Regions from separate parts of the Homo sapiens genome. Here regions 2, 3, 4 and 5 are each linked to region 1. Evidence: promoter capture Hi-C in 16 types of primary human blood cells and fetal thymus (Javierre and others, 2016). All regions are on one chromosome and are shown on one strand. The core of a region is centred on a gene start or on the middle of the fragment in contact, and the rest is flanking DNA. Distances in the headings are between cores, read along the strand shown. Region 1 holds the start of BRAP (BRCA1 associated protein). Region 2 overlaps TRAFD1 (TRAF-type zinc finger domain containing 1). Region 3 holds the start of ERP29 (endoplasmic reticulum protein 29). Region 4 holds the start of NAA25 (N-alpha-acetyltransferase 25, NatB auxiliary subunit). Region 5 overlaps NAA25 (N-alpha-acetyltransferase 25, NatB auxiliary subunit).

Evidence for each region. Contacts are between HindIII fragments. The CHiCAGO score rates a contact against its expected background, and 5 or more counts as called.
Region 2: a contact is called between a fragment that was not itself captured here and the fragment with the promoter of BRAP in region 1, in 1 of 17 cell types (non-activated CD4 T cells). The highest score is 5.5, in non-activated CD4 T cells.
Region 3: a fragment that was not itself captured here is called in contact with the fragment with the promoter of BRAP in region 1 in 1 of 17 cell types (fetal thymus); the score reaches 5.3 in fetal thymus.
Region 4: the fragment with the promoter of NAA25 here is called in contact with the fragment with the promoter of BRAP in region 1 in 1 of 17 cell types (fetal thymus); the score reaches 5.0 in fetal thymus.
Region 5: a fragment that was not itself captured here is called in contact with the fragment with the promoter of BRAP in region 1 in 1 of 17 cell types (M2 macrophages); the score reaches 5.4 in M2 macrophages.

What each region holds. Positions count from the first base shown.
Region 1 is chr12:111,684,599-111,687,298 of GRCh38, forward strand. BRAP (BRCA1 associated protein) reads right to left here and starts at 1,358. Exons shown (of 12, transcript NM_006768.5): 1 at 1,113-1,358. The coding sequence starts at 1,194. It overlaps ACAD10 (acyl-CoA dehydrogenase family member 10), which reads left to right and starts at 1,455. Exons shown (of 21, transcript NM_025247.6): 1 at 1,455-1,641. RefSeq lists enhancers at 1-382, 383-1,084, 1,085-1,786 and a silencer at 1,131-1,230. The HindIII fragment of the contact is 2,811 bases long and covers 561-2,700 here.
Region 2 is chr12:112,127,100-112,129,799 of GRCh38, forward strand. The region is part of intron 1 of TRAFD1 (TRAF-type zinc finger domain containing 1); the gene reads left to right. Among named protein-coding and RNA genes, the nearest start is that of TRAFD1, 2.9 kb to the left of the region's middle. The HindIII fragment of the contact is 4,265 bases long and covers 1-2,700 here.
Region 3 is chr12:112,013,081-112,015,780 of GRCh38, forward strand. ERP29 (endoplasmic reticulum protein 29) reads left to right here and starts at 346. Exons shown (of 3, transcript NM_006817.4): 1 at 346-529. The coding sequence starts at 386. It overlaps TMEM116 (transmembrane protein 116), which reads right to left and starts at 85. Exons shown (of 11, transcript NM_001193531.2): 1 at 1-85. RefSeq lists enhancers at 1-9, 1,680-1,819 and silencers at 170-249, 590-679. The HindIII fragment of the contact is 577 bases long and covers 1,066-1,642 here.
Region 4 is chr12:112,107,487-112,110,186 of GRCh38, forward strand. NAA25 (N-alpha-acetyltransferase 25, NatB auxiliary subunit) reads right to left here and starts at 1,297. Exons shown (of 24, transcript NM_024953.4): 1 at 1,230-1,297. The coding sequence starts at 1,287. RefSeq lists silencers at 1,067-1,146, 1,167-1,246. The HindIII fragment of the contact is 1,965 bases long and covers 265-2,229 here.
Region 5 is chr12:112,049,639-112,052,338 of GRCh38, forward strand. The region is part of intron 15 of NAA25 (N-alpha-acetyltransferase 25, NatB auxiliary subunit); the gene reads right to left. The region is part of intron 1 of LOC124903022 (a long non-coding RNA gene); the gene reads left to right. Among named protein-coding and RNA genes, the nearest start is that of MIR3657, 13 kb to the left of the region's middle. The HindIII fragment of the contact is 5,003 bases long and covers 1-2,700 here.

The sequences.
Region 1 (2,700 bases), core at 108-2,607:
CCATTAAAACAGAGACGCTGTCTGATTCAGCACACAAGGAAGGCTCCAGCAGATATGAGCATAAGTTTTTTTTTTGTTTTTTTTTTTGAAATGGACTTTATCTCTTGTCGCCCAGGCTGGAGTGCAGTGCCACAATCTTGGCTCACCGCAACCTCCACCTCCCGGGTTCAAGCGATTCTCCTGCCTCAGCCTCCCCAGTAGCTGGGATTACAGGCACCTGTCACCACGCCCAGCTAATTTTTGTATTTTTAGTACAGACAGGGTTTCACCATGTTGGCCAGGCTGGTCTTGAACTCTCAACCTCAGGTGACCCGCCCGCCTCGGCCTCCCAAAGTGTGAGGATTACAGGCGTGAGCCACCGCGCCCGGCCAAGTATTTCTTGAATGAATGTTAGTTAATTATCTGAGGACCAAGGAACAGAGCCAGAGCTGCATTCCCCACTAAGGAGCTTCCTCACTTGTGTTAATGGTGTAAAAAGCTCAGACTCAAGTCCAGCTCACTGAGTTAGAATCCCAGTTTCACCCATTACAGATAACCTTGGGCAAATCAATTAATCACTAAGCTTCAGTTTCCCAATGTGTAAGAGGTACATGTCACATCCATCTGCCTCTTAGGGCTGTTGCAAAGATAATTAAAGAATACAATACACAAAAGGTGCTTAGTACAGTGCTGGGATATAGGAAGTGTCCAAATTTTAGTTATGACTATGGTTAGGGGGCACTTCAATGGATATCGTTCCAAAAGGGAACAATTTAATTAACCCAGGGACCGTCCAGCGTTGCTGGGGACCCAGTCCCTGCCTTTACGAAGCCCATAGGGAAGCAAGTGAGACAAACACACCACTCGACTATCTCGAGAGGGAGACGCGCCAGGTATAAACTAAATGCCCTCAGACGGCACAGGGAGGGAGGTTCGGGGCAGGGCTTCCCTGAGATAACAAACGGGAAGGCCTCTCAAAGGCGGATGGGAAAGAGAGGGATCCCGATTACCTCTCCGTGTCTTCCTGGGCAACAGCCCTCGCCGCGGGCTTTTCCCGGGCCAGTGCTTTGGGAAGGGAAGCCCTCCGGGCCCAGACCCGGCTACAGGGAATGCGGCGAGGCCGCGGGACTCACCCGCGGCGCTGAAGCCGAAGCCGGCGGGGACAGGCGAGTGTTCCGCGAGCTCCAATCGGATAACAACCAGTGACACACTCATAGGGCAGGCGCTGGCCGGCGCGGGCCCCGGCGGGCTCAGGCGAGGCTGGAAGGCGAGCCGAGAGGCCGAGCGGCCCGGGGCCGGCAGCGCCGCCACCACCTCAATGCAGTTGCCGCCGCCTCAGCAGCAGCAGCTCCTCGAACAGCCCTCGGAGCCACAACAACCTCCACTTCCGCCTCCCGGCCGCCGTCGCTGACCTGCGGTTTACGCATGCGCGCAGGACCGCGCACAGCGATTGGGCGGCGTGGCAGGGGTCACCCACTGCTCTTCCGGACGCAATTTTGAGGAGGTCGGAGCGGAAGGACGTCGTGGAGATTGCTTGCGCTGGGGTGCCACACTTAGGCTGAGCTGCAGGTTTTCGCACAGTCGCGAGTTAACCTCTGCTTGCTCCAGAGGCCTCGTCCTAATCCACCTCGGCTGACGGCGCGGGATCCCTGGCTCCGCGAGGTCTCCGAATTGTCCGAGCTATCTGCTATGCAGAACTTTGCCCCTTTTGTTGTGTTTGACTCCTGTCTCTAACCCTAGTCTGGATGGTTTTGTTTCTGTCCCACTTTACAGATAGGTACAACGAGGCTCAGAGAGGTGAAGTTCCTTCTAAGGGGCCGTAGAGAGTGGAGAGTCGATCGCTGTTCAGATAGCGATCTGGCTGGGCGCGGTGGCTCACGCCTGTAATCCCAGCCCAGAGGCTTAGGCGGGCGAATCACCTCAGGTCAGCAGTTCGAGACCAACCTGGCCAACATGGTGAAACCTCGTCTCTACTGAACATACAAAAAATTAGCCGGGCTTGGTGGCGCGCGTCTGTAGTCCAAGCTACTTGGGAGGCTGAGACAGGAGAATCGCTTGAACCCGGGAGGCGGAGGTTGCAGTGAGTCGAGATAGTGCTAGTGCACTCCCGCCTGGGCAACAAGAGCGAAACTCCGTCTCAAAAAAAAGAGAGAAAAGATGGTGATCTGCTGGTTACGAGCATAGTGCTGCAGTTAGACCGGGGTCCTCCTCCCCACCCTGTCACTTCACAAATGTTTACTGAGAGTCTAGACACCCTTGGGATGCTTGAGATACGTTGGCGTATAAGATAAACACAGTTCCTGTCCGTACTATGAGGTTGACCTACATCAGCAGTTGTGCAGTCTTGAACTAGTATAGTCATTGCATAAAGTTGGCATGATATCATGTCCTCATGCAGTTGTGAGGATGAAATGGAATTATGTATATGGAGATAACATTAGCTTTTCTGAGGCTCAGCATTCTTTCCAGTATGTCAGAGTGGCTTTTGTATGTAGATACTGACACAATCAATGCATATGGGACACATACATGACAGGATGCTACTCTAGGTACATTGTATAATGATACATATGTAAGTACATAGTACATTCTAGATGTGTGTGTGTGTGGACATAGTGCGTTCTAGATGTGTGTGTATCTGGACTATGACATGACCACAAGATACATGCGTATATAGATCTTGTGACTACATCCTATGAAATACGTTTCCATATGCCCTGT
Region 2 (2,700 bases), core at 133-2,632, 440 kb after region 1:
GATCTGCCTTTACTTTCTCTTTCATTGCTTTTAGGCCTTTTGCCCTTCCCACTGCCTGGATGGATTTCCCCGCATTCCCATCCTCTATCTTTGTCTTTTCGTGGTTGGCTCTTGTACTTCAGTTCTTAATTTAAATGTCGTCTCCCCAGAAAGTTCTTCCCTGACCACTCTTATCTACCTAAAGTAGATTTGCCTCTATTCCGCCCCCATTTATTTGTCAGTATACTTTTCCATCACAATACTCAAGTTATATGTATTTTTTTGCTTATTGTTTTTCTCTACCACTAAATCGCTTTATCAGAGACTATATTTCCTTATTTTGTAAAGTATTTTTAGTGCCAGGGCACAGTGGCACACAGTATGGTCTTCTTTTTCTTTGAGACAGGGTCTCACTCTGTCACCCCGGCTGGAGTGCAGTGGTGTGATCACAACTCACTCACTGTAGCCTCGACCTCCTGGGCTCAAGCCTCCCAAGTAGCTGGGACTACCTCAGCCTCCCACCCCAGCCTCCCAAGTAGCTGAGATTACAGGCATGTGCCACCATACCCACCTAATTTTTTGCTTTTTTGTTTTTTGTTTTTTTTGAGAGGGAGTCTCGCTCTGTCGCCCAGGCTGGAGTGCAGTGGCGTGATCTCGGCTCACTGCAAGCTCTTTTTAGTAGAGACTGGGTTTCACCATGTTAGGCAGGATGGTCTCGATCTCCTGACCTTGTGATCCACCTGTCTCGGCCTCCCAAAGTGCTGGGATTACAGGCATGAACCACCGCACCCGGCTGCTTATTTTTTATAAAGGCAGGGTCTTACTATGTTTCCTGGCTGGCCTTGAACTCCTGAGCTCAAGTGATCCACCCACCCCAGCCTTCCAGAGTGCTGGGATTACAGGTGTGAGACACTGCACCTGGCCCACAGTATTGTCCTTTTTTTTTTTATTTTTATTTTTTGAGACAGAGGCTCACTCTGTTGCCCAGGCTGGGGTGCAGTGGTGTGATCCTGGCTTACTGCAACCTCCACCTCCCGGGTTCAAGCAATTCTGCTTCAGCCTCCCTAGTAGCTGGGACTACAGGCACCCGGCTAATTTTTTTATTTTTAGTAGAGAGGTGTTTCGCCATGCTGGCCAGGCTGGTCTTGAACTCCTGACCTCAAGTGATCCGCCCACCTCAGCCTCCCAAAGTGCTGGGATTACAGGCATGAGCCACTGGACCCAGCCTCAAAGTATTGTCTTAATTAAGCATGTTGAACAAATGACTAAATACATGTTTTGAAAAGTGGCAACTCGCTTGATAATGCCAAAACCTTTAAAGAACCCTACTGGGGGCAGGATTTAAGACCATTTTTGTATCATGGAAAGGAATAATCTAAACTAAACAATGGTAGTAAAGTTGCCAGTGCTTTGCTTTCTGCATTGACATCTTGTTTAAAAAGCAGGAGAAACTTTATAGTGAAGAAATTTGGCAGACACCATATCAACTATGTGATCATGGTTTACATCAATAGTAAAATAAGACTGTTGACATCATGTACCTTCTGATATAAGGCACTGAGATGAGCACAACATGATTTCTATGGTGTTCTTGCCAAAAATATATAACCTGAATTTAATCATGAGAAAATATCAGACAAACCCAAATTGAAGGATATTATATAAAATAACTAGCTGGCTGGGCACGGTGACTCATGCCTGTAATCCCAGCACTTTGGGAGGCTGAGGCTGGCTGGTGGATCATATGAGGTCAGGAGTTTGAGACCAGCCTGGTCAACATGGTGAAACTCCATCTCTACTGAAAATACAAAAATTAGCTGGGCATGGTGGTGCACACCTGTGGTCCCAGCTACTCAGGAGGCTGAGGTCGAGGTTGCAGTGAGCCGAGATCGCAGTGAGCCGAGATCGCACCACTGCACTCCAGCCTAGACAGCAGAGTGAGACTCTGTTTAAAAAAAAAAAAAAAAAAAAAGCCAGTATGCTTAACAAGGTCATGAAAGAGAAGGAAAGACTGAAGAACTCTCCCAAATCAAAGGAGATTAACTACAAGTAATAGCCAAATGCAGTGTGTGATCCTAGATTGAATGCTGAACCAGAAAAAGGGTGGGATGGTGATTTTTTTTTTTTTTTTTTTTTTTTTTGAGACAGGATCTCACTCTGTCACCCAGGCTAGGGTGCAGTGGTACAATCACTGCTCACTGCAGCTTTGACCTCCTGGGCTTAAGTGATCTTCCCATCTCAGCCTTCTGAGTAGTTGGGACCACAGGTGTGTGCCACCACGTCTGGCTAATTTTTAAATTGTTTGTAGAGAAGGGTTTCACCATGTTGCCCAGGCTGATCTTAAACTCCTGGGTTCAAGCGATCCTCTTCAGCTCAGCCTCCCAAAGTTCTGGGAGTACAGGCATGAGCCCCTGTGCCTGACTTGTTGGTGAAATTTGAATGAATTCTATAGATTAGTTACTAGTATTGTATTAGTGTTAATTTCCTCTATTTGATAATTTTACTATTGTTATGATGCTTTTAGGGTAATTGGATGAAGTCTGTAAGGGATGTTATTTTATTTTTATTTATTTATTTATTTTTGAGACGGAGTCTTACTCTGTCGCTAGGGTGGAGTGCAGTGGCACGATCTTGGCTCACTGCAACTTCTGACTCCCTGGTTGAAGCGATTCTCCTGCCTCAGCCTCGCGAGTAGCTGGGATTACAGGCATGCGCCACCAC
Region 3 (2,700 bases), core at 104-2,603, 330 kb after region 1:
AAGGAGAGGAAGGACAGCAAACGAATTGCTATAGCGTCCCCATGCGCACTTGGCGCTTCTCCTCAAGCGGAGCAGGAACGGAACTGGGCGGACCCGCCGGAAGACTCGGCGAGTGCGCGCGCGCAGGAGCCCATTTTCCCGCCCGCAACGTGGCCCCGCCCTTTTACCCAGGCCCTACGCGAGCTTCGCCGAGTACGCGTGCGCAGCAGCTTCCCCTCCCTCGCCCCGCCCCTCACGTGGCCCCACCCTCTCACCCTAGACAGATGGGAGCCTCCTGGGGTGTCCACGTGAGCGCGCGTGAGTCCGCCCCCCCAGTCACGTGACCGCTGACTCGGGGCGTTCTCCACTATCGCTTACCTACCTCCCTCTGCAGGAACCCGGCGATATGGCTGCCGCTGTGCCCCGCGCCGCATTTCTCTCCCCGCTGCTTCCCCTTCTCCTGGGCTTCCTGCTCCTCTCCGCTCCGCATGGCGGCAGCGGCCTGCACACCAAGGGCGCCCTTCCCCTGGATACGGTCACTTTCTACAAGGTAACCGGGGCGGGGGACGTCGCGCGCAGGTGCCGCCGGGGCGCCCGGAAGAGCGCGCGCCCGTGGGGAGACGCTGGATTCCGGGAGCTGACGGGAGGTGGTCTGTAGCAACGGTCCCAGAGCTTCCCGGCGTCCTACAGGCCTAGTGGACTCTGAGCGGAGAATGTTATGACCACCGGGCATGCACGCTTCAGGGCCCCGGCGCACCCTTGCTTTTGCAGCATTTATACTTGCATCCACCCTTGCAAAGATGCAGCCGAGGGAACTGGGTGCCCCTTCCCTTCACCTGTGGGGAGAGGGCGGTGCCTGGCGAGATCCAACCCTCGAGTCCCAAGTGGGAGAACCGGAGGGCGGTGCGAGGTCGACGCCACCGGGCTCCCGGCTGTGGAAGCTGGGAGGGGTTGGCGGGGGGAAATGCAGGCGCGTTAGCCTGCGTGTCCGCGCCCCTCTTCCCAGGGTTGGATTGCAGCCTGCTTTGCAGTGTGCAAACAATGATCAGATATCATACATCTTGAATAGTGCAAGCGTGAAGAATAAGCTTCAGTTCAGCCACCCTGTAAAGCAGGGGTCCCCAACCACCAGGCCCGTCGGTGGCCTGTTAGAAACCGGGCCGCACAGCAGGAGGTGAGCGGCAGGCGAGCTAGCACTACAGCCTGAGCTCCGCCTCCTGTTACATCAGCTGCGGCATTACATTCTCATAGGAGCACGACCTTTATTGTGAACTACGCATGTGAGGGATCCAGGTTGTGTGCTTCTTATCAGAATCTAATGCCTGATGATCTGAGGCGAAACAGGTTCATGTCGAAACCACCCAACCCCGTGGAAAAGTTGTCTTCCATGAAACCAGTTCTTGGTGCCAAAAAGGTTGGGGATAGCTGTTGTAGGAAACATCTTGGGGTTGGCAACAAAATCAGTAAAATTGGGTCAAGGCATGGAAGAATTTGCCACTACCTCCGCCTTTCCCCCCTTCCATTTTTGCAGAATTAGGGATCCTGGCCTGAGTAAATGGACGGTTGGAAATGGTGGCTGAATGCAACACCGCAGTCCCAGTCCCCTCCTCTTGCACCTGTCTTCACCCACGAGCAGCTTTTAACTTCCTCTAGGAGATGGGCAAGCTTAGTGTTGCGAGAGAGCCAGTCATTTCATTTTCAGGTTTTGTACTCATTGTGGGGAAGTGAAACCAAGAAGTAGTTGTCTCCAGTGGTTGAAGTCTCCTATTTTCAAGCGTTCCCTGTCGTGGATTTGGCACTTGCAGCTCATTCAAGGCAAAGTTTCAAGAATTTAAAAGTGTAGGCCGGGCTTAGTGGCTCACGCCTGTAATCCCAGCACTTTGGGAGGCTGAGGCGGGTAGATCACCTGAGGTCAGGAGTTTGAGACCAGCCTGACCAACAAGGTGAAACCCCGTCCCTACTAAAAATACAAAAATTAGCTGGGCGTGGTGGTGGACACCTGTAGTCCCAGCTCCTCGGGAGGCTTAGACAGGAGAATTGCTTGAACCCAGGAGGCGGAGGTTGCGGTGAGCCAAGATCACGCCACTGCACTCCAGCCTGGGCGACAGAGCAAATACTCCGTCTCAAAAAAAAAAAAAAAAGTGTGGGCTGGGTGCGGTGGCTCATGCTTGTAATCCCGGCACTTTGGGAGGCTGAGGCAGGTAGATCACCTGAGGTCAGGAGTTGGAGACCAGCCTGGCCAACATGGTGAAACCCTGTCTCTACTAAAAATACAAAAATTAGCTGGGCGTGGTGGCGGGTGCCTGTAATCCCAGCTACTCGGGAGGCTGAGGCAGGAGAATTGCTTGAACCTGGGAGGTGGAGGTTGCAGTAAGCCGTCATCATGCCATGACACTCCAGCCTGGGCAACAAGAGCAAAACTCTGTCTCAAAAAAAAAAAAAATGGTGTAGGTGTGGCTGATTGGTTGTCAGGCATGCTCAGACACACCCTACAGCACCCTATGCTTTGGGGGCCTTTACTGGCAAAATGACACCCCTACCCCACCCTGCTCCATGGGAATCAGATAATATCACAGAACAAGTGTGACCCAAAGGGAAACTTTGCGCCATAAAGCTAACAGTGTTTTCTACTATTACCACCCTAGTCTAGGTCAACATTACAATAGCCTCTTCTCTGGTCTCCCTGCTTCCACTCTTGAGTCTCCACACAGTAGCCTAAGT
Region 4 (2,700 bases), core at 47-2,546, 420 kb after region 1:
GCCAAGGCCAGTGACTGTCATAATGAGTCATCTATAAACCTTAGCTATAGGATTGTTGCTAAAATCAAATGAGATGTGAGAGTAAAAAAAAAAATCACACAAATTATGAAATAAAAGCCGGACTAACTGTGGCCAGAAACAAAGTTAACCACCGCCCCCCGCTCCCAAAACGATTCCCACCTTGGAGAGAAGCCTCCAATTTAGTAACATCCACATGAGGTCTATAAATACGATGTCTACTTTTGTAAAAACCACTGACCTTGAAGCTTCCTCACCATTAAGTGAGATAGACCAAGACCATAAAACCATCTAAGAGGAAAGGAAATGCAAAAAGGACCAATCCAATTACACATTTCGGTTATTGGAAAAGGGTTTCTCCCAAACTCAAAATCTGTGATTTTTCACTACCAGGGTAAATGGATGAGATGACATCAAGGTCTTCAAGTCTGCGGGTTGAGGTAAGAGTTGTGGAGAGGGATCTGCTTAGCACAGGGAAGGAAAGCTGCAGAGAAAACCACAGAGAAGCTGCAGAAAGGAGAAGCCCTCCAGTAGCTCTGCATGCCCCTCTGACACGAGCTATCACAATCTCTTCACCGCTATTTTAGGCCCAAGACCCCCTCCCCCCGCCTCCCACGTGTGACCAGAGTAGCTGCTTCTCCACCCAACAGCTCTGGATTGGGAGCCTGGAATCTCGGGCCTGCTCCTGACTCGATCTGGGTGACCTTGCGTCAGCCCCTTCCCCACTCCGGACCTCAGTTTCTCCTATGCACCGAAGCCCACCTAGTCAGACAACCCTCTAGGCCCAATTCCCGTAAATAAAAAAAAATCTCTGGTAGGGAATCTTCCCTCAGGCAGGGCGTCCCACCCTCGTGCCGGAGCCGGCTTCCACCTTCGGGGAGATCTCCGGTCTCCCTAGGAGCGGCGGTAACGATGCAGCCTGCGGGTAGCGCAGGTGTCTGCAGAACCACGCGTCCCACGGGGCCTGCCAAGCAGGCCAGCTCTGCCGACCAGCTGCTGCCCAGACCGCGCCACTACCACCCCAAGGCTGAGGAAGGTTGGGCCGGCGCCTACGCGAGGCCCGCGGCTGCGGCCTAGTGGCCCGCGCGGCCCGCCCCCCTGCGCCTGCCCGGCCCGCGCGCCGGCCCTCAGCACCCCTCCTGGGCTTTCGCCCCAGCCTCGGCAGCCCTCGGCGCGTCGGGCTGGCGAGCGGGCTGGTCCAAGACACTCACCGTAAATGGGCCGGAGGCGCCTGTCGTTAGGGTCCTGCACATGGCCCCGCGTCGCCATGATGACAAGCGCAGAACCACAGTGCGCACGCGCGGGGCAGGACCCCGGGAAAGGGCTATTAAAGGGCCAGCGTCGATCTCGCTTGTCTATCACGATAGTCGCGGTGCTGCGACTGAACGCGCCTGCGCGGAAAGGGAAGCATCCACCCTTGCCGATTGCCACCTCTTTAAACGCTGTTCCTTCACTTAGCAGGTGGGATCAAGCTGGCAAGAGGAGGCAGCTGTTGCTGTTAAAGTCTTCCGAGTCACTGACTGGGAAGTTAGGAGAGGAGGGGAGAAAGCTCTCAAAGTTAGGGTTCGGCTGCTCCTGTTTATCCTATTTATTCTCCGTCCTGAAGAACCAGCTAGACTTGGCTGTGATTAATCGCAGAGGAACCAGAAACTCCCGGGGGAGAGAGACCCAGGGGAAAGTTGGGGAAGCGGGGCTGATCAACAGCAAAAATCTGCCAAAAAAGTTCGAGAGAGCCGGGCGCTGTGGCTCAGCCTGTAATCCCAGCACTTTGGGAGGCCGAGGCGGGCGGATCACAAGGTCAGGAGATCGAGACCATCCTGGCTAACACGGTGAAACCCCATCTCTACTAAAAATACAAAAAAAGTTAGCGGGGCGTAGTGGCGGGCGCCTGTAGTCCCAGCTACTCATGAGGCTGAGGCAGGAGAATGGCGTGAACCCAGGAGGCGGAGCTTGCAGTAAGCCGAGATCGCGCCACTGCACCCCAGCCTGGGCGACAGAGCGAGACTCCATCTCAAAAAAAAAAAAAAAAAAAGAAAAAAGTTCGAGAGCCCTCCACCACCTGTTCCTGGACCAAACTGAGCGTCAGGCTGCTGTTTCTCCTGGTTCAGTAAGGAGATGCAGATGAACTGGAGAGGAAGCGAGTTTTTATTTCTGCAACCAGTTACAGGGAGAAGGCCTGGAAATTATCACCAGACCAACTTAAAATTACAAAGCTTTCCAGAGCTTATATACCTTCTAAGCTATATGTCTACGTGTAAATGTGCATTCATCTAAAGACATAAGTGATTAACTCGCCGGGCGCGGTGGCTCATGCCTGTAATCCCAGCACTTTGGGAGGCCAAGGCGGGCGGATCACGAGGTCAGGAGATCGAGACCACGGTGAAACCCCATCTCTACTAAAAATACAAAAAATTAGCTGGGCGCAGTGACAGGCGCCTGTAGTCCCAGCTACTAGGGAGGCTGAGGCAGGAGAATGGCGTGAACCCGGAAGGCGGAGCTTGCAGTGAGCCGAGATCCCGGCACTGCACTCCAGCCTGGGCGAGGGAGGCTCCGTCTCAAAAAAAAAAAAATAATAATAATAATAATTGATTAACTCACTTTAGTCTATAACTAAGGTTTGAGTCCTGAAGACTTTCCTTTGAAGCCTCAGTAAATTTACTTAATCTAAATGGCAATAGGTGC
Region 5 (2,700 bases), core at 33-2,532, 360 kb after region 1:
AAGAAAATTAAAAAGATTACTTGTGATCCTGCAGGTTTCAAGAAGGACTACCTGAAAAAGCTCGAGTATACCTTCTAGCTTGATTAAAGGACAGTGATACACCCTATCAAGAGGAGGCCAGGATACTCTAAACACATATGCCTATCCTATGGCCCCTTGGCTTAGAAAACACAGCAAGGTTTACTACTATTAGCCCTTGTAATAGGAACTTACAGCTGGGGAAAAAAAAACAGCTGGTTAGGAACACATGATTCAGTAATTAATCAAAAAGAAAATATGACTTTAGTAATTCCAATCAAAGTTATAATTACAGTTCCAAAGTATGCTATGATTTAAGGAGGGAACCCAGCCTTACCAAGTGTAGAGGCAGTTTTAATTTCTAAGTGGTCCGTGGAACACCACTTTATTTAAAAAAAAAAAAAAAAAAGGCAATAGCTTTTCAAAGAGAAAAATAAGGGGCAACAAAGAGAGTATAGTCTTTAACAAACTAAGAAGGTAGTCACAGTTCTCTGGCTTATCTTTTTTAGATAGTCCTTCTGTAACACTGCAGTAAAGTACCACTGCAGAGCTAGACAAGGGCCTGGGATGCAACCACTAGGACCAAGGCTGTGGAAGTAGTACTACGTGAAGAAACAACCCCCTACTGGAACTGCAGGCAAAACTGAAAGCCACAGGCACTTTAAAGACTTTTGAATATCAAAGTATGTTGTCCGTACCTATTTTCTACTCATTTATGCACCAATGAGGCTATTTAGATCCCGAATGGATTCCTGAAATGAACCCTGGTCACTGTAAAAATTAGTGAAATATATGGACATAAAACCCCTGAATAATGACCTTTGTGAATACCTAGAGATTATATTTTCTTTTATTTACTTTTTTTTTTTTTTGAGACAGAGTCTCACTCTGTCATCCAAGAGTGACAGCTGGAGTGCAGTGGTATGATCTCAGCTCACTGCAACCTCCACCTCCCAGATTCAAGCAAGTCTCCTGACTCAGCCTCCCAAGTAGCTGGAATTACAGGCGCTCGCCAACACACCCAGATAATTTTTGTATAAAATAGAGATTTTAAAGGGAAATTTTTAAGAAGTAAAAACACGTAAGTGACTTTTAAAGATATGAAAATCTAGTGCTTATTTTCATATTTTTAAAAATCTATTCCAAAGTAAGATGACAACAGAAAATAACCTTTCTAGAAAGAAAATCCCTATGCAGACCTTCCAAATACAACTTTCAATCCCATAGCACAAAACATTACTAAGCAAAACACTAGATTTTCCATTTAAGTAAAAGTGTCCTGTCAAAGAGCTAGGTGGGAATTGAAATGCATCAGTCACCCAAGGAAAAAGCATCCGGGGATCCCAAAAACTACCAAGAATAAAAGATGCATAGTATAGAGCTCTGGATTTGAAGAGAGATATTTCTGATACTCTAAGCACAAGGTTGAACACACACAGTAAGACACTACAATCATAATCTTTCTTAGCCTTAGATTTCTTTAGGAAACAGTTCACACCACAGTCTCTATCTGGCACTCAACATTAAGGTCAAGCTACATGTTCCTAGCTGTACCATATTTTTCTTTTTTGGTGGGGGGACAGAGTCTCTCTCGTCACCCAGGCTGGAGTATAATGGTACAATCAGCTCACTGCAACCTCCACCTCCCGGGTCAAGCAATTCTCCTGCCTCAGCCTGCCGAGTAGCTGGGATTACAGGCACCTACCACCATGCCTGGCTAATTTTTGTATTTTTAGTAGAGATGGGGTTTCACCACGTTGGCCAGGCTGGTCTTGAACTCCTGACCTCAGGTGATCCACCCACCTCGGCCTCCCAGTGCTTGGATTACAAGCGTGAGCCACTGTGCCCAGCCTGTACTGTATTTTTCTTTTGCCTCTAGGACTCTTCAAGATTATCTCCTGTCAGCAGATTTAATAAGCTCTATCTTCTTAGCGGTAATCAAAATATATTTCAAGTGTCCTAGTCTCTGATCAATAAAATGCTATAATTTTATCAGGTTCAACATCACATACATTCAGATGAATTAGTCACTTTTGCCACACACAACCATCAGCAAAACATAAAACAAAGATACAAAAAAAACTCTGAGGATGACACATCCCCTCAAATTGCTCCTAGGGGTCTCCTTTGCCTATATTGCAACACTTTTGTAATTTTATTTTTAGATTTTCTTTCAAAACAACTCTTCAGACACAATATTTGTGGGAAAAAATTAAAGCCTAATTCTGATGTATATAAAGTAATGTGTCTTTATTGACCACATCTTCATGAGTAATACAGTTCTTCTAGAATGCTGCATGATTGAAAGCTAGAGGAAAACCAGCCACCGGGCTGGAATTAATCCCTGATTTACTCCCACTACCTCAAAGCTATTTGAGAAACAAACCTTTGAAAAGGAATCTTCAGTAAATCAAATGTTTCTTTCATCTCTCTTATAAATACAGAAATGAGGCCATAAATAATGAGATGAGGAAACCAATCCTTTTGATTTTTTTTTTGAGTTAGTGAAACCTCTTGAAAACAGGAGGGCAAGTACAGATACTTGAACACACAATGAAAATTCATAGGTTTATAGCTCATCCATGCTAGGTTTTAGAAACCCAACATCCTAGAGATGACCTTCTGACCTCTAAGCCAGGCCAGCACACCTTCTGAGTAACATGCTCAGATGCTGATACTCAT